Linked DNA regions of Homo sapiens: all the other regions are linked to region 1. The links are contacts of gene promoters, found by promoter capture Hi-C in blood cells and fetal thymus (Javierre and others, 2016). All regions are on one chromosome and are shown on one strand. The core of a region is centred on a gene start or on the middle of the fragment in contact, and the rest is flanking DNA. Distances in the headings are between cores, read along the strand shown. Region 1 holds the start of DMKN (dermokine). Region 2 overlaps KMT2B (lysine methyltransferase 2B). Region 3 overlaps MAG (myelin associated glycoprotein). Region 4 holds the start of KMT2B (lysine methyltransferase 2B). Region 5 has its middle 6.7 kb from the start of ZBTB32. Region 6 overlaps FFAR1 (free fatty acid receptor 1).

What was found. The method cuts DNA at HindIII sites, captures the fragments that hold promoters and counts their contacts. A CHiCAGO score of 5 or more calls a contact.
Region 2: a contact is called between a fragment that was not itself captured here and the fragment with the promoter of DMKN in region 1, in 1 of 17 cell types (monocytes). The highest score is 6.4, in monocytes.
Region 3: a fragment that was not itself captured here is called in contact with the fragment with the promoter of DMKN in region 1 in 6 of 17 cell types (neutrophils, total B cells, megakaryocytes and 3 more); the score reaches 8.3 in neutrophils.
Region 4: the fragment with the promoter of KMT2B here is called in contact with the fragment with the promoter of DMKN in region 1 in 2 of 17 cell types (neutrophils and monocytes); the score reaches 11.0 in neutrophils.
Region 5: a contact is called between a fragment that was not itself captured here and the fragment with the promoter of DMKN in region 1, in 5 of 17 cell types (monocytes, megakaryocytes, naive B cells and 2 more). The highest score is 6.7, in monocytes.
Region 6: a fragment that was not itself captured here is called in contact with the fragment with the promoter of DMKN in region 1 in 16 of 17 cell types (M0 macrophages, megakaryocytes, M1 macrophages and 13 more); the score reaches 16.3 in M0 macrophages.

What each region holds. Positions count from the first base shown.
Region 1 is chr19:35,512,316-35,514,950 of GRCh38, reverse strand. It overlaps DMKN (dermokine), which reads left to right and starts at 1,302. Exons shown (of 16, transcript NM_033317.5): 1 at 1,302-1,901; 2 at 2,161-2,361; 3 at 2,474-2,530. The coding sequence starts at 1,476. The HindIII fragment of the contact is 13,607 bases long and covers 1-2,635 here.
Region 2 is chr19:35,735,993-35,738,627 of GRCh38, reverse strand. It overlaps KMT2B (lysine methyltransferase 2B), which reads right to left. Exons shown (of 37, transcript NM_014727.3): 31 at 1,801-1,938; 32 at 1,642-1,716; 33 at 1,365-1,542; 34 at 885-992; 35 at 686-769; 36 at 437-566; 37 at 1-346. The coding sequence ends at 71. Among named protein-coding and RNA genes, the nearest start is that of IGFLR1, 5.1 kb to the left of the region's middle. The HindIII fragment of the contact is 3,993 bases long and covers 1-2,635 here.
Region 3 is chr19:35,309,918-35,312,552 of GRCh38, reverse strand. It overlaps MAG (myelin associated glycoprotein), which reads right to left. Exons shown (of 11, transcript NM_002361.4): 8 at 2,392-2,635; 9 at 1,910-2,006; 10 at 536-635. Among named protein-coding and RNA genes, the nearest start is that of CD22, 18 kb to the left of the region's middle. RefSeq lists enhancers at 106-605, 606-1,107. The HindIII fragment of the contact is 3,088 bases long and covers 1-2,635 here.
Region 4 is chr19:35,716,688-35,719,322 of GRCh38, reverse strand. KMT2B (lysine methyltransferase 2B) reads right to left here and starts at 1,320. Exons shown (of 37, transcript NM_014727.3): 1 at 942-1,320. The coding sequence starts at 1,304. ZBTB32 (zinc finger and BTB domain containing 32) reads right to left here. Exons shown (of 7, transcript NM_014383.3): 7 at 2,285-2,635. The coding sequence ends at 2,571. RefSeq lists silencers at 886-935, 986-1,065, 1,106-1,175, 1,196-1,245, 1,326-1,805 and enhancers at 531-1,088, 2,376-2,635, 2,208-2,635. The HindIII fragment of the contact is 14,363 bases long and covers 1-2,635 here.
Region 5 is chr19:35,696,545-35,699,179 of GRCh38, reverse strand. No RefSeq gene overlaps it. Among named protein-coding and RNA genes, the nearest start is that of ZBTB32, 6.7 kb to the left of the region's middle. The HindIII fragment of the contact is 1,755 bases long and covers 440-2,194 here.
Region 6 is chr19:35,352,595-35,355,229 of GRCh38, reverse strand. FFAR1 (free fatty acid receptor 1) reads right to left here. Exons shown (of 2, transcript NM_005303.3): 2 at 1,366-2,635. Among named protein-coding and RNA genes, the nearest start is that of FFAR3, 4.5 kb to the left of the region's middle. RefSeq lists a silencer at 102-201 and an enhancer at 2,178-2,635. The HindIII fragment of the contact is 1,553 bases long and covers 521-2,073 here.

The DNA of each region.
Region 1 (2,635 bases), core at 53-2,552:
TCGCTATTATCATCATTAACGAGTCAGAGATGGAATAACAGGGAAGTAGGAGCTGAGGAGGACAGATGGGGATAGTGTTTACAAGGTAAGAAGTGTTGGATGTTATAAGCTGGGGTGCGGATATTGGGGTGGAGAGAAGAGAGAGACTGACTGAGAGACATTGAGAAAGGCTGATGGAAACTGGCCCCTCCTAACTGGGCGATGAACCCCAGTGATACGAAACAGTGGGAGGCCCTGTGGCCCCTGGGAATAGAGAAGCAGCCACACTTGCTGGGCAGGGGTGAGGCGGGGGGAGGCTCCCAGGTTCTGTATCCCGAGCTGGGACTGGGGAGAGGGCCGTGGCTCTCACGGATGGCTCCTGACCTTGCGCTACCCTCTTCTCGCTTGCCATTGCTGCCCTGGCCCCTGGCCTGGGGGATGGGTGGGGTGAGCTGGCCCAGTCCCGCCCCTCATAGGCGCTTATACTCACACGTGCCCCTCTAGGGCTGCGTAAACAGGATGGGTGCCTGGGTCAGCGGCTCCCTCCCTTGGCCTTCCCTCCCACTCGTTCCCTGGGGGTGGCTGGCGCGCCTGGCTGCCCTGCTCCGCGCCCAGCTTTCTCAGCCGGGAGCAGCCTGAACGCTGAGACACCCTGCTGACCACTCAAAGGGCTATGGCCACCTCCTTCCCCGACACCGAGGGTCCCCCCGGGGGCTCTCCCCAGAATCTCAGAAACTGACACGCAGCCCCGTGTTTGCCAGTCTCTCTCTGTGGGCTGGAAGGTGTGGAGGAACAAGAAGGCAGTCACCTGTAGGTGGCAATGCGGGAGGGGAGAGGGAGAGGAGAGGCTGAGGTGCTGAAACCGAGAAAGGCCAGGCCGAGGACGGGCAATGCCTGTCACTCTGGAGCCCCTGAGCCAGGCTGGCTGAGCCTGGGTGGGTCCTGTCCCCTGGGGCTTCCCTGTCCTTACTCCTTTGGTGGGGTCCTGCCAGTAACTCCTCTCTTCTAAGTCTGCCCCCACCCCACCGCCTCCAGGAGCCAACGACAACCTGTCTCCTTAGATGCCCCTGCCCCCACCCAGCTCCCCGAATGCCTGGGGTTGGGAAATGGGAGCACTTTTGCATCACCTCATCCATTTCTCCCTCCCTCCCTGATGCGGCTCACTCTCTGTTTCGACAGAGACTCTCAGACTCACAATAACAGCTGATTACCCTATTGGTGGCTGGGCCCTGAGTCACTGCGGGGAGGGACCTCAGGTTGCCCAGCCCTGTCACCTTCTCCCAACCTAGAGTATAAGGAGTAGTGACAGGGAGGTGGACTCTGAGAAGCCCAGGCAGTTGAGGACAGGAGAGAGAAGGCTGCAGACCCAGAGGGAGGGAGGACAGGGAGTCGGAAGGAGGAGGACAGAGGAGGGCACAGAGACGCAGAGCAAGGGCGGCAAGGAGGAGACCCTGGTGGGAGGAAGACACTCTGGAGAGAGAGGGGGCTGGGCAGAGATGAAGTTCCAGGGGCCCCTGGCCTGCCTCCTGCTGGCCCTCTGCCTGGGCAGTGGGGAGGCTGGCCCCCTGCAGAGCGGAGAGGAAAGCACTGGGACAAATATTGGGGAGGCCCTTGGACATGGCCTGGGAGACGCCCTGAGCGAAGGGGTGGGAAAGGCCATTGGCAAAGAGGCCGGAGGGGCAGCTGGCTCTAAAGTCAGTGAGGCCCTTGGCCAAGGGACCAGAGAAGCAGTTGGCACTGGAGTCAGGCAGGTTCCAGGCTTTGGCGTAGCAGATGCTTTGGGCAACAGGGTCGGGGAAGCAGCCCATGCTCTGGGAAACACTGGGCACGAGATTGGCAGACAGGCAGAAGATGTCATTCGACACGGAGCAGATGCTGTCCGCGGCTCCTGGCAGGGGGTGCCTGGCCACAATGGTGCTTGGGTGAGTGGCTGTGGGGCTGCATGTGGAAATGGGAGGCTGTGGGCTGCTGGGCTGAGATTCTTGGGAAACGGTTGAAAGGATGGATGGATCTCTTACTTGCAGGCTTCTGGGGCAGCTTCCTTCTATGTTCTGCCCCCCTCCTATGCCACCCTGGAGTCCCTCTGCCTGTCTCTCTCCTGGTCTCTTTATGATTTGCCCTGGCTCTTCTCTACCAGGGTCAGAGATGGTCCCACTAAGTGCAGGTATGTTGTTCTTGCAGGAAACTTCTGGAGGCCATGGCATCTTTGGCTCTCAAGGTGGCCTTGGAGGCCAGGGCCAGGGCAATCCTGGAGGTCTGGGGACTCCGTGGGTCCACGGATACCCCGGAAACTCAGCAGGCAGCTTTGGAATGAATCCTCAGGGAGCTCCCTGGGGTCAAGGAGGCAATGGAGGGCCACCAAACTTTGGGACCAACACTCAGGTAAAGTCACCCCCAGACCTGCTACCTGCCACCTCCCTCCCTCCAAGCCCACATGCTCCGCGTGCCTCCCTGGTCCCTCTGGATCCTACTCTCAGTCTCACCCTCTCTGCAGGGAGCTGTGGCCCAGCCTGGCTATGGTTCAGTGAGAGCCAGCAACCAGAATGAAGGGGTAAGAGGAAGGGGCTGGGAACAAATGAAGAAGCCACTGGGTGCAGGCTACAGAGAGCTGGGGAAAGACAAAGAGGAAAGCAAGATGGGGGAGTGGAGGGATTGG
Region 2 (2,635 bases), core at 68-2,567, 220 kb before region 1:
CCCAGGCTAGGGGCAAGATGGCAGCGACGGCAGCAGGAGGTGTGAGGGGTCGTGGTGGGCAGCCACGGCCTCAGTTAAGGAACCGACGGCAGCGCTTGGCGCCACAGTTGCAGGGCAGCTTGTTGCTGGCATCCTCGATGGGGAACTTGTAGTCGTAGGTGAGCTCCTCACCACGCAGGATGCGGCGCAGGGCGAAGATAACAATGTGTTTCTGGCCCTCCACGTGGATGACCCGAGAGAAGCAGTTGGGCTCACAGGAGTGGTTGATGAAGCGGGCGGCATTGCCATGCATCGTGGCGTCCACTACATCAAAGTCATCCATGCGGAACATATAGCACCCGATGCCCTGCAGGGATGAGGTGGGGAGATCAGGTGCTCTGTCCCCGCGGACAGGCTCGCTTCACCCACTGTCTTCCCACAGCCACTGGGAGCCCACCTTCCCATCGTAGAACTTCTCCCGCTTGTCAGTCAACACCGAGCGGATGACAATGCCAGAGTACTCGATGACCATCTCCCCCGCGTCGATGTTGCGCTTACAGAACAGGCCTCGCCCGTGGATGGCTGATCTGCAGGGCAGGATGAACAGGGAACTCAGGGGGGAGGGGGACAGAAACCAGACAGTACCCCCTACCCAGTGCACCTGTCCGTCCACCCAAGGGGCATCCTCCCCCCCAACCCCACTCACCTGTAGACACCCACAGCTTCTTTGGACGTCTTCTTAAGGTGACGAAAACGCATGGCCATGGGCAGCTCCAGGCTGGTGGCACGTCTGGTGAGGGACAGCAGTGTCACCCAGGCTGGTGCTCAGAATGACCTCTCTCACCCCTGCTCACTCTCTAAGACCCTTCCAGACCACCACCCGCCCCCCAGCTCACACTCCATACCTGGTTGACCTGAGCTGCACCTCATCCTCTTCCTCATCACAGGTGGCCCCCTCAGGGAGCACCCGGTGCTGGGAGGCCAGGAAGTTGAACATGTCAAAGGTGCACTTCCTGCAGGTGGCAGCAGGGGAAGGAGGAATATACTGTTGAAGACAGAGCTAACAGGGAAATGGGTGGGGTTCATTTTTCTGATGTCAGCTCTAGAAATAACTTTTTTAAATTTTTATTTTAGAGATGGGGTTTTGCCATGTTGCCTACGCTGGTCTCCAACTCCTGGGCTCATGCGATCCTCCTGCCTCGGCCTCCCAAAGTGGCGGGATTACAGGCATGAGCCACGGAGCCTGGCTAACTCTAGAAATAACTCTTCAAGTGACCTAGTGTCTCCTCCCCAGGCCTCAGTTTCCAACCTCTACAGTTAACTCCCACCCTCAAGAGCTCTCATAGGGGCGCCCTGACCCAGGCATCACACCCCAGACCTCTCACCGGAGATAGACCTCTGCCCGAGCAGCCCCATGGGGATTCAGGGGCGGCTCCTCCTGGCCCTCTCCCTGCTGGTGGTAACGGAACTTATAGTGCTGGCAACGCTGGGCTCCGGGGAGCTGCTCGGCCAGGAAGATGACAGCATCATGGTGGATGCCCAGGAGTCTCGCCCCACTCATTCCTGAGGGGAGATGTTGAGGACACACCTGTCATGTGGAGGGCCCATGGTGCCCTCGGGGAGACATCCAGCTCCCTGCCCCCTGTGGGGCCCACTCCTTACCACTAAAGGAGAGATGTCTGAGTCGGGCATGCCCTCGGGCCTCTTGCACTTTCTCGATCAGAGTTCTCCACGCCCCTGGGGAGACAGCAGAGCCAGAGCTGAGTCAGGATGGTGTTTTATGGACACTCTCCCTCCTGCCACTGCACTCCCCCCACTCACCCTCCAAGCTCTCTGCCTCAACGCTGAACCCATCCTCACTGCTGATCTCGAAGCGCAGATGTGGGCCAGTCCGTTTTGGGGCCTGGTTCTCTTTATCATCTGGGGATGGAGGCTCTTCCTCAGAGCTCGAAGCCTCACCTGGTCCCAAGAAGCAGGTTGGAGTGAAGATCACCCTTCCCGGACTCAAAAGCCCCTGAGCCCCGCTGTGCTCCCAGCAGACACCACTCTCTCCACCCCTAGGCGCAGACACAGATACTAGGGTCTAATGGCCCTCCTTCTGCTCCAGTTACCCAGTGAGCCCTGCAGAATGGACATTTCTTCCCCTAAGGAGCCTGCGGCTCCTCTTCTGCAGGACTTCTTGGGTACAAAAGCATTCCACAGAGGCTTGGGGCCTTTTGGCTCTTCAGGACACGCCTATGGCTCACTCAAACCCAGTGTACCATACATCCCATCTACCTGTCATTATTCTGTTTCTCACACAAAATTTAAAATACTGGAGAATTGTATTTTGCACATCTATTTTTTTTAGATGCAGCAAATTTCTGTAACTGTTACAAACATAAAATTATCATTTTTTGAGACAAAGTCTCGTTCTGTCTCCCAGGCTGGAATGCAATGGTGTGATCTCGGCTCACTGCAACCTGTGCCTCTCAGATTCAGGCAATTCTCCTGCCTCAGTCTCCCGAGTAGCTGAGATTACAGGCGCCCACCACCACGCCCGGCTAATTTTTGTATTTTCAGTACAGATGGTGTTTCACCATGTTGGCCAGGCTGACCTCAGGTGATCCGCCCGCCTCGGCCTCCCAAAGTGCTGGGATTACAGGCGTGAGCCACT
Region 3 (2,635 bases), core at 100-2,599, 200 kb after region 1:
CACCCCTCCCTCCACCCCCTAGCCACAGGAATTTGGACACACAGGACGGTGGCCACAGACAGAAGGGAGCTGCAACAGGACAGACTAGACAAGGCCAGCACTGCCGGGCAGGCCCGGACATCACCAGAGACCACCTTGACGCCTGACAGGGACACACGGACATGCACGCCAACCCCAGGGCCCAAGGAGGGCCCAGAGGAGGGCACACTGAGGCCCCCGGAACCTACCTCCTGGGGCACTCAGTGAGATTCCAGGGTAGAAACCTCTTTGGACTATTGGAGAAGGAAATGCAGTCACAGACACAGGCAGGGAGGGGAGGGGGCCCTTAGGCCCCACGTCCCATCGCCCCCTACACAGCTTCGGCCTGGGCACCTCCTCCCCAGCCTCCAGGTCCAACCCAGCCCTGGAATGTCCTTCCTCTCCTCCTGTGAGAGGCCGCTCCCACTCCCCTGCCCCTTGGCCTCACAGGCCTTTCCCAGGCCTTCAGTGTCCCTGGCATCCAGGTTCCCAGGCCAGCCTGGAGCCTGGTCCTTACCTCGTACTTCTCTGGTGCCCCAGAGATGCGGAAGTCGCTGCTGAACAGGACGGGAGGGTTGTCCCCTGCCGAGAAGCTGGGGCTCTCTGTCACGTTCTTTCTGCAGGGCAGGACTCGTCAGACCTCTCTCTGCCCTCCCTTTCTGCACCCCCACGTGTTTTAGGAGTTTGGCTCAGGGGACCTCAGAGTTCTCCCACCCATCTCTAAGATGTGGCAAGCAGCCCTTTCAGAACCACCAGCCTCTCCTACCCACACAGCCCATCCTTCCCACCTCTGTGGCCCCTGCCCGGCTGGGGACGAGCCACCTGGCCCCTGAGCTCTGCCGTTTTTCAGGACCCCCACCTGGATTCTCCAGGTTCCCCTCATAGGCTCTGGGTCTTTCTGCCCCTCTTGCCACCAGGATGTGGAGCAGAGGGGTTAATTTATTTCTCAGGACAGCTGATGTGTGTGTGCCACAAGAAAGAAACACGGCTGCAGCTGAGTTGGGCCAGGTGGGTATGGTTTGGGGCTGGAGAGGCTTTCTGTCTGTCTGTCTGTCTGTTTGTTTGTTTTTAGAGACAGGGTCTCTCTTTGTCACCTAGGCTGGAGTACAGTGGTGAAATCATAGCTCACTACAGCCTCAACCTCCCAGGCTCAAGCGATCTTCCCTCCTCAGCCTCCCGAGTAGCTGGGACAACAGGCACGTGCCACTAGTAGCTAATTTTTTTGTTTTTTTGTAGATGGGGTCTCCCTATGTTGCCCAGGCTGGCCTCTAATTCCTGAGCTCAAGAATCGTTCCACCTCAGCCTCCCAAGTAGCTGGGACTACAGTGTGTGCCACCATGCCTGGCTAATTAAAAAAAAATTTTTTTTAGAGATGTGGTCTTGCTATGTTGCCCAGGCTGGTGTCAGATTCCTGGCCTCAAGCAATCCTTCCTCCTTGGCCTCCTAAAGTGCGGGATAACAGGCGTGAGTCAACGCGCCCGGCCAAGGCCTATTTTTTTTTTGCCCCAGATGTGTGTAATCTTTGGGGCTTCTGGCGTCAAGTGGACCTGCTGCTGTGGCTGCAGTGGGGTACCTGGGCTTTCCCCACCACACTGGAGTGTGTAGGGGAGAGTTCCTAGAGATAGGGAGGCTGTCAAAATAGAATGTGGGCAAACAGGTCTCAAATGATGTGTGTAAAGGGCTCAGCCCAGGCCCTGGTGTGCCCCTGACCAGCAGGGGCTGGAATTAACAGGAACCCTCTCTCCTCTGTCCAGCTGAACATTCCCAGAACAGAATCTGCCTTCTCTACACTTATGGTGCTGCCTTCCCCCACCCACTCTGGGCCTCCATCTCCCACCAGGTCCCCTTTTTGGAGACTCCCATCCCCAGATCAGCCCCAGCTGGCACTCACTTCCTGCGTGTCTGGGTAATGTAGCAGACGATGGCAATCAGGATGGCAAAGGCGACCACGGCGCCCACAGGCCCGATCTTGGCCCACATCAGTCGATCTGAGGACAGAAAAGACCCAGGCGCCCTTAGGGCTATGGGTGGTGGTGACGACACCTGAGAACTTTGGAGACATGCTGGGATGACAGTCAATGTAGTCACACAGCCGGGGCATCCTTGCACTGACTGATTGGCACGGAGCCTCCTCGTGCCAGGGCAATCCCTTTCATGCTAGAGGGCCCTGGGGAGGGGCTCATGCCTCAAAGGTCCTAGCAAACTCGGGGCAAACTCAGGGCGGCTTCTCCTCTCCAACCGGAAAGGGAGAATTTGACCTTTCTGTCAATCTGCATAGCCCATGCTCTGTGGCTGTTGGTCAGCCTTGGGAGCTTGGATCTAAGACGTGCCCGCTCCCTCCTGTGGCTCCCACCCCAAGTCCACGCCACTCACGGGCTCCCTGGAAGGGCAGCTCCAGGCTCTTGGCGCCATAGAGGTTCCTCGCGGTGCAGATGACGCGGGGCGGGGCCTGGGCCTGCCCCCGCAGCGTGAGGATGCTGGTGAGCACGAGGCCGCTGCGCTCCGAGTACACGAACTCCCGCTCGCTCTCGTTCACGGTCACATTGCGCGATGGCAGCTCAAAGGCCACGGACGGCTCCGGGTTGGACTTCACCACGCACAGGCACTGCACCGTGTC
Region 4 (2,635 bases), core at 71-2,570, 200 kb before region 1:
GTAGTGGAAGAGAGGGTCTCTCCCTAGGGATGGAGGCGCCAGGTATTTCGAACTCCGATCCCCAGTGCCGGACCACACCAGCACAGCCAAAGCCATGGTTCACTGGCCCAAGAGAGAAGACGACAGGGTCTCCTCAGGAAAGGCAGCAGGCCCCATACTCAGATTCCTTCAGAGTCCAATTCAGACCAAAGTGGGACCTCCACTGACACCCTTTCGGGCCACAATTTATTTCTGCATTAAGTTGGGAACAGGGGCCCGCAAGTGAAGGGGCGGGGAGGGCATCAGATGGCTTTCGTACAGGCTCCACTGCGAGCTCTCAGGTTGTTATTAACCGTCCAGGGCAACGCAACCCACACCTTCCTGCCTGTTCTGAAAGGCTGGGGGAGAAATCCTGAGCTGAGCTCTGACCTGCTAGAGTGCCCAGTCCCGGCCTTCATCCCACTCCTGTTCAACCCGAGCCCCAAGAGGAAGCCCTCCACCACTCTACCTGAGATGCCAAGAGAAACTGGGGCCCTGGAGAAACCAGGAGGTTGCGAGGCCCGGCGGGGCGGCCCACAGGTAAGAGCCCAGACAGCTCCAACCTGTCTGCCAAGGCCACGCTGCCGCTGTCAACCACGACTGGCTGGACATGCAGTCCCCACTGCCTCCTCGCCCAAACCTCCACCGCCCTAGCTTTGCCAGCTGCCGAAAAGGATCGGCCCAAGACACTTCAGCGGGACCGACATCGGGCGCGAGTGCCTGGCTGCAGCCGGGGCTTCTCTACCCACTTCCAGAGGCCCTTTCCCCCGGAAGCTGCATGCAGCCGCCCTCCCTCCGTGCCCCGTCTCTCCGAAGGAACCCTGAGGACCCGGCCTGCCCACGCCGCCCCCGGGACAACCCAGACCCCTGGAAGCCCCGGCCTCCGCCCCACCCGGCGCCGGGGACGCCTCCAACCGCCTCACCTCCTCGTCGGATTCCCCGTCACTGCTCTCCTCCTCCGGCACGCAGCCTCGACTCGGGCCCCAGCCCCGGCCCCGACCCCGTCCCCGGCCCCGCTGGACCCGCGGGCCGGCCCACAGGCGGCGGAGCCGGCGCAGGCCCCGGCGGAGCCCCAGCAAACGGAGCAGGGCCGTGTCCTCCCCGGGCTCGGCTCCGCCCGGCCCCGTCGCGCCACCGCCGCGCCGCAGAGCTACCCGCACTCTTTCGGCCCCGTTGCCCCGTCCGCCGCGGCCCCCGCCCCCGCCGGCGCCCCGCGGCCGGCCCGGGAAGCGGCCCCGCGCGGAGCCAGGCCCGGGGCAACTGCCGCCGCCCGCCGCCGCCGCCATCTTGGCACCGTGAGAGGGGCCGGGGAGGCGGGGGGAGGGGCGGCCCGTGCGCAGGGCCGGGGGGAGGGGAGAGAGCGGGGGCGGGGCGGGGCGGCCGCGGCGCACGACAACAACCAGCGCCGCCGCGGGAGACCGGGGGCCGGGCCGGCCACGCGCAGGGCACCACGGGAGAGGGAGTCCGCGGCCGGCCGGCGCCCTCGGACCGCACCTGGGGAGCACAGACCCCCGCGTCGCGGCCGCAGAGGGGCGAACCGCGGGGGCCTCCGGGAAATGTAGTCCGGACGCCTCGCTTCTTCCGCCGGCAGCCAGGGCGCGAGGGCCGGGACGGCGGGGTTCCCGGCCAGGACCCGGAAAGCGGGTTGCCGGGTCTCCGGGAGGTGTGGTCCTAGCCCCAGGCTCCTCCCATTGTTCTTGGCTAGGCCGGCGGCCCGCGTGGACTACCACTCCCAGGGTGCCGCGGGCTCGGGCCCCGGGACCCCCGAGGCCCTGGGAAATGCAGTTCGCGGCTGCAGGAGGCGTGGGCTGGAGAAGGAGCGGTGGAAAGCATAGTCAGTCTCCGTTCCAGGCGCGACCTGGCGGCGGCTTGGCACGGTGTGGAGGGAAGACGCCGGAGAGGCCGCGGTCTCGGGGTCCGTGTGCTCCCGGAGAGGAGGCGGGTGGCCGAAAGCAGGGTCGGAGCACGCGTTCCTCTCTCTCCCGGGCCGAGCGTTCCCAGATCAGACTCCGCGCGCCGTGGATTGCAGTGGAAGGGGCGAGTGACTTGCGGTCGCACAGCCCCCACCAGTCCAGGACCGGCATGCCGCAAGGTGTGCCCGGACACCGAGTCCTCGGGGCCGGCTGCCTCCTGGGGAGGACGGGGCGCCTCGGGGGTGGAAGAAGTGTCCATCCCGCTGGACAGCGGACGCAGGGCCACCAGGGGCCGCTACAGGACAAGGGGCGTGGGCGGGGGTGTGCACAGACTAAACTCGGCTTTCTAGTCCTGAAGGGAGGGCACAGGAAACTCTTTATTATGGTGATGAGATCGACAATCTCCCCTACTGTTAACCTTCGCTCCTGCACACTTCAGTGTCCTCACTCTGTAGGGCTCGCTGGCCTGGGCTTCTGCGACCCGCGATCGTCCAGGAGAGGGCACTCGGCGCCCTTCCTGGGGCGCTTCTGGGGCGGAATTTGCTAGGCCGCCGTAGCAGCGGTGCCAGGTCAGAAGCCGAGCCGGCCCGCTTTTCGTTCTTTAATTGGACTCTTGGCTAAGACGCTACCGACACCCCGTCAGGTGGTGGAGGAAGAAGGACAACAGGGAGAGGTCGAGGGCCGAGACGGCCTCGAGGAGGAGT
Region 5 (2,635 bases), core at 68-2,567, 180 kb before region 1:
TAATAAGCTGGTCTACAATACAGGTTTCCTGTGTTTTGTTTTTTTAGAGATGGGGTCTTGCTGTGTTGCCCAGGCTGGAGTGCAGTGGCTATTCACAGGTGCGATCGTAGCACACTGTGGCCTCAAACTCCTAGCCTCGGCGATCCTCCTGCCTCAGCCTTCTGAGGAGCTGGGACTACAGGCACATGCCAACATGCCCAGCTAATTACTACAAATTATTGAATCCTTTTTATGGGCCAGGAAGGCATGAGAAGATGGAGTGAGGGACCCTGGGCTCTGGCAAGATGGTATAGGAAGGGTTGTTGGCTTGGCTTGGGGGGTTGGACTGTAAGATTTGGAGAGTTAAATGTCTGAAAGAAGTAGAAAAATAAATAAAAAGCCCCTGCCTTCAGTTGCTTATTGAGCAACTCCCCATGCCAGATCCTACACTAACTAAGCTTAACTGTACACTGAGAAGCAGAGAGCCTTGCAGCCTAGGTAGCTGAATGCTGGATCCAAACTGTCTGCATCATATCCTGGCCCTGTTATTTACTAGTTGTGAGACCTTTGGCAAATTGCTTAACCCCTCTGGGCCTTAATCTCTTCATCTGGGCATATTAAATGGTCATATCATAAATGGGCATATTAATAGTACATATTGGCCAGGCATGGTGGCTCACACCTGTAATTCCAGCACTTTGGGAAGCCGAGGTGGGCGGATCACCTGAGGTCAGGAGTTCGAGACCAGCTTGGCCGACATGGTGAATCCCTGTCTCTACTAAAAATACAAGCCTGTAATCCCAGCTACTCGGGAGGCTGAGGCGTGAGAATCGCTTGAACCCAGGTGGCAGAGGTTGCAGTGAGCTGAGATCATGCCACTGCACTCCAGCCAGGGCAACAGAGTGAGACTATGTCTCAAAAAAAAAAAAAAAAAAAAAAAAGGGCTGAGTGGCTGAGTGCAGTGGCTCATGCCTGTAATCCCAGCGCTTTGGGAGAACGAGGCAGGCAGATCACCTGAGGTCAAGAGTTCAAGACCAGCCTGGCCAACACGGTGAAACCCCATCTCTACTAAAAATACAAAAATTAGCTGGGTGTGGTGGCAGGCACCTGTAATCCCAGCTACTCGGGAGGCTGAGGCAGGAGGATCGCTTGAACCTGGGAGGGGGAGGTTGCAGTGAACTGAGATTGCACCACTGCACTCCAGCCTGGGTGACGGAGCGAGACGTCATCTCAAAAAAAAAAAAAAGGTACATACTCCCGGTCGTGGTAGCTCACATGTGTAATCCCAGCACTTTGGGAGGCTGAGGTGAGAGGATTGCTTGGACTCAGGAGTTCAAGACCAGGTTGTGCAACATGGCGAATCCCCATGGCTACAAAAAATACAAAAATTAGCCAGGTGTGGTGGCACACACTTGTAATCCCAACTACTGGGGAGGCTGAGGTAAGAGGATCACCTGAGCCCAGGAGGTAGAAGCTACAGTGAGCCATGATTGCAACACTGCACTCCAGCTTGGGTGACAGAGTGAGAACCTGTCTCAAAAAAAAAGAAAAAAAGTGTGTACCTCTCAAAGTCATTGAGGGGATTAAATGAACTAATAGAGCAGTGGTATTTCTTCTTCTTTTTTTTTTTGAGATGGAGTCTGCCCTCCAGGCTGGAGTGCAGTGGCGCGATCTCGGCTCACTGCAACCTCTGCCTCCTGGGTTCAAGCGATTTTCCTGCCTCAGCCTCCTGAGTAGCTGGGACTACAGGCGCGGGCCACCACGCCCAGCTAATTTTTGTATATTTAGTAGAGACGGGTTTTCGCCATGTTGGCCAGGATGGTCTCGATCTTTTGACCTTGTGATCCACCTACCTCGGCCTCCTAAAGTGCTGGGATTACAGGCGTGAGCCGAATAGTGGCATTTCTTCTGTTCCCCAATGCCCTGTAACCGAGTTGTTTCCTTGCAATCAGTGTCATCTGCCTTGGCTGTGGTGTAGACCCTGAAAATTAAGGGATCATGGGAAAGCCTGGGGGCAGTGTGTTCCCAGAAGCAGTAGCAAGCGCAAAAGCCCCAAGGCAGGAGTGAGCTTAGTATATCTGAGGTACAGCAGGAAGTCCACCTGGAGCCAGGCAGCTGACTAAGACTCAGGAGCTCAGCTCAACGGCACGAGTGTTCATAACAGATGTGAAAATAACCCTGTACCTTTCAGAGAACAAAGGACTTTCCCCAAGCTTTGATCTCTGGAAAAACCCCAGACCATGATTACATTTGAGGCTCAGTGTCCACAGTTGCACAGGAATGAAGCTTAGAATTCAGGTCTTCTAGCTCTCTAGGGCCCATGCGTCAAGGTCAAGAAACTTACTTTCACTCAAATATTTATTAAACTCCTGGCCAGGCGCAGTGGCTCACACCTGTAATCCCAGCACTTTGGGAGGCCAAGGTTGGCTAATCACTTGAGGTCAGGAGTTGGAGGCCAGCCTGGCCAGCATGGCAAAACCCCATCTCTACTAAAAATACAAAAATTAGCCGGGCATGGTGGCGGGCGCCTGTAATCCCAGCTACTCAGGAGGCTGAGGCACAAGAATCGCTTGAACCTAGGAGGCAGAGGTTGTAGTGAGCTGAGATTGGGTCACTGCACTCCAGCCTGGGTGACAAGAGCGAAACTCCATCTCAA
Region 6 (2,635 bases), core at 48-2,547, 160 kb after region 1:
TTCTTCAAATTAGAACACAATACTCCTTCCCTTGATGCAAGCAAGGCAGGCATGTGGCTTGTTGAGCAAAGCACAGGCTAGAATTTAGTCAGTGTTTGCTCCTCTGCCCAGTACCTTCGTGTAGTGAACACCCGCTCATCCGTACGGCAGTGGCAAGGCTAAACCACAGCGTTGTGTGAAGCTGAAGTGAGACAACACTCACTGTAGACACTCAGCGTGACACCCATCACGTATTACAGACTATATAGTTGACCTTTGAATAGCACAGGTTTGAACTGTGCAGGTCCACTTACTTGTGGATTTTTTTCAATAAATACATTGGAAACATTTTCAGAGATTTGCAACAATTTGAAAAAACTTACAGAGGAACTACAAGCCTAGAAATATATTTTTAAAATTAAGCAAAAGTTAAGTATGCCACGAATACAAAAAATATATGTAGGTACTAGTCTATTTACTGCCACTAGTCTATTTACTGCCATACATACTAGTCTATGTATGCCAAAATGGATACAAAGCTTTTTTTTTTTTTTTTTTTGAGACAGGATCTGGCTCTATTACCCAGGCTGGAGTGCAATGACATGATCTCGGCTCACTGCAACCTCTGCGTCCCAGGCTGAAACCATCCTTCCACCTCAGCCTCCCAAGTACCTGGGACTACAGGCACACGCCACCATGCCCAGCTAAATTTTTTGTATTTTTGGTAAAGACAGGGTTTCTCCATGTTGCCCAGGCTGGGCAAATCTCTTATAGAAAGTTAAAATTGGCAGGGTACCGTGGTTCACGCCTGTAATCCCAGCACTTTGGGAGGCCGAAGCGGGTGGGTCAACTGAGGTCAGGGGTTCGAGACAGGCCTGGCCAACATGGTGAAACCCCATCTCTACTTACAATACAAAAAATTAGCCAGGTGTGGTGGTAGGTGCCTGTAATCCCAGCCACTTGGGAGGCTGAGGCAGGAGAATTGCTTGAACCTGGGAGGCGGAGGTTGCAGTGAGCCAAGATCACACCATTGCACTCCAGCCTGGGAGACAGAGCAAGACTCTGTCTAAAAACAAAACAAAACAAAAAAGTTAAAATTTATCAAAAATATATGCACGCAAACACAAACTCTATTTGATGCCATTTGAAGTCAAGAGAAATGCAAGCAAACATAAAGATGTGCAGTATTAAAGTCATAAGTGCATATTTACTGTAGACATACTGTACTCCTATAATAATTTCGTAGCCACCTCCTGTGCTTTCTCCGTGAGCTCAACTGTTGAGTATCTGCTTCCAACACCACGTGAAGCTAATCACCTCCTGGTGAGCAGTTCTCGCCAGTACACTGTGTACAGAAGTAAAAAGTGATCTTTCATAGTCATTGCATATGTTTCACCATGTTTAATGCAATACCGTAAACTTTGAATAACCCCCTTGGCCCCAAATGCGGGGCCACTAGTGATGCCAGAGCTGCTTCCAAGAAGCAAAGAAAAGTCATGACATTATAAAAAAGGGTTGAACTGCTTGATATCTACCACAGATTGAGATCTGCAGCCGCGGTTACTGCCGCTTGAGACAGACAACTTCTCTTATAAACAGACAACAAAACTTACAGTATTGATAAATACAGCACAGTGCTGTGAAGGTATTTTCTCTTTCTAATAATGTTTTCAGTAACATGTACTTTTCTCTAGCTTACTTTATTGTAAGAATACAGCACATAATATATATAACATACAAAATATGTCTTTTTTCTTTTTTTTCCAGAGACAGGATCTTGCTCTGTCACCCAGGCTGGAGTGCAGTGGTGCGATCATGGCATTGCAGCCTCAATCCTGGGCTCAAGGGATCCTCCCACCTCAGACCCCTGAGTAGCTGGGACTACAGGCACGCACCACCACGCCCAGCTAATTATTTTTATTTTTATTATTTGTAGAGGTGGGGGTCTCACTATCTTGCCCAGGCTGCTCTTGAACTCCTGGCTTCGAGCAGTCTTCCCGCCTCGGCCTCCTAAAGTGCTGGGATTACAGGCATAAGCCACTGTGCCTGGCTTCAAATATGTCTTACTCAATTGTTTATATACTGGGTAAAGCTTTTGGTCAACAGTAGGCTATTAGTAGTTGAACTTTGGGGGAGTCAAAGTCATGCACAGATTTTCCACTGCGTGGGGTTCGGCACCCCATCCCCACGTTGTTCAAGAGTCAACTCCGTAGCCTTTGCCCATCACTGCGGGACCTTGCATTTTCCCTCCCCGGCTGAAGCATCTTTTCCTGCCAGCCTCCGTTCCAAGCTCCAAGGCTGCCCCCTTGCGAGTTTCACATGGTATAACAGCGTCATTATCCTGCCTCCTGCCTCCTCTCCTACTCGGAAATCAAATGTTCTCTCCTGGGAACTGATTTCAGAGTAGCTGTCCTCAAGTGCATCACCGGAGTGGCAGTTCCTGTGGGTCAGAAACAGACTGCCTCCTCCTTCCCGTAAGTACAAGGCCTCTGCTCGCGGCCCACGGAAGACAGGCAGGTGAGGACGTGCAGAGGGGAGAGAAAGATAGGCGAGGAAGGGACAAACTTCCTCGACACGTGCAGGGGCAAACTTACCTCCCCCTGCCACCGTGCTCTGGCTCGGTGCTCCTCTCTTGACTGGGGTGCTGCCCTCAGCA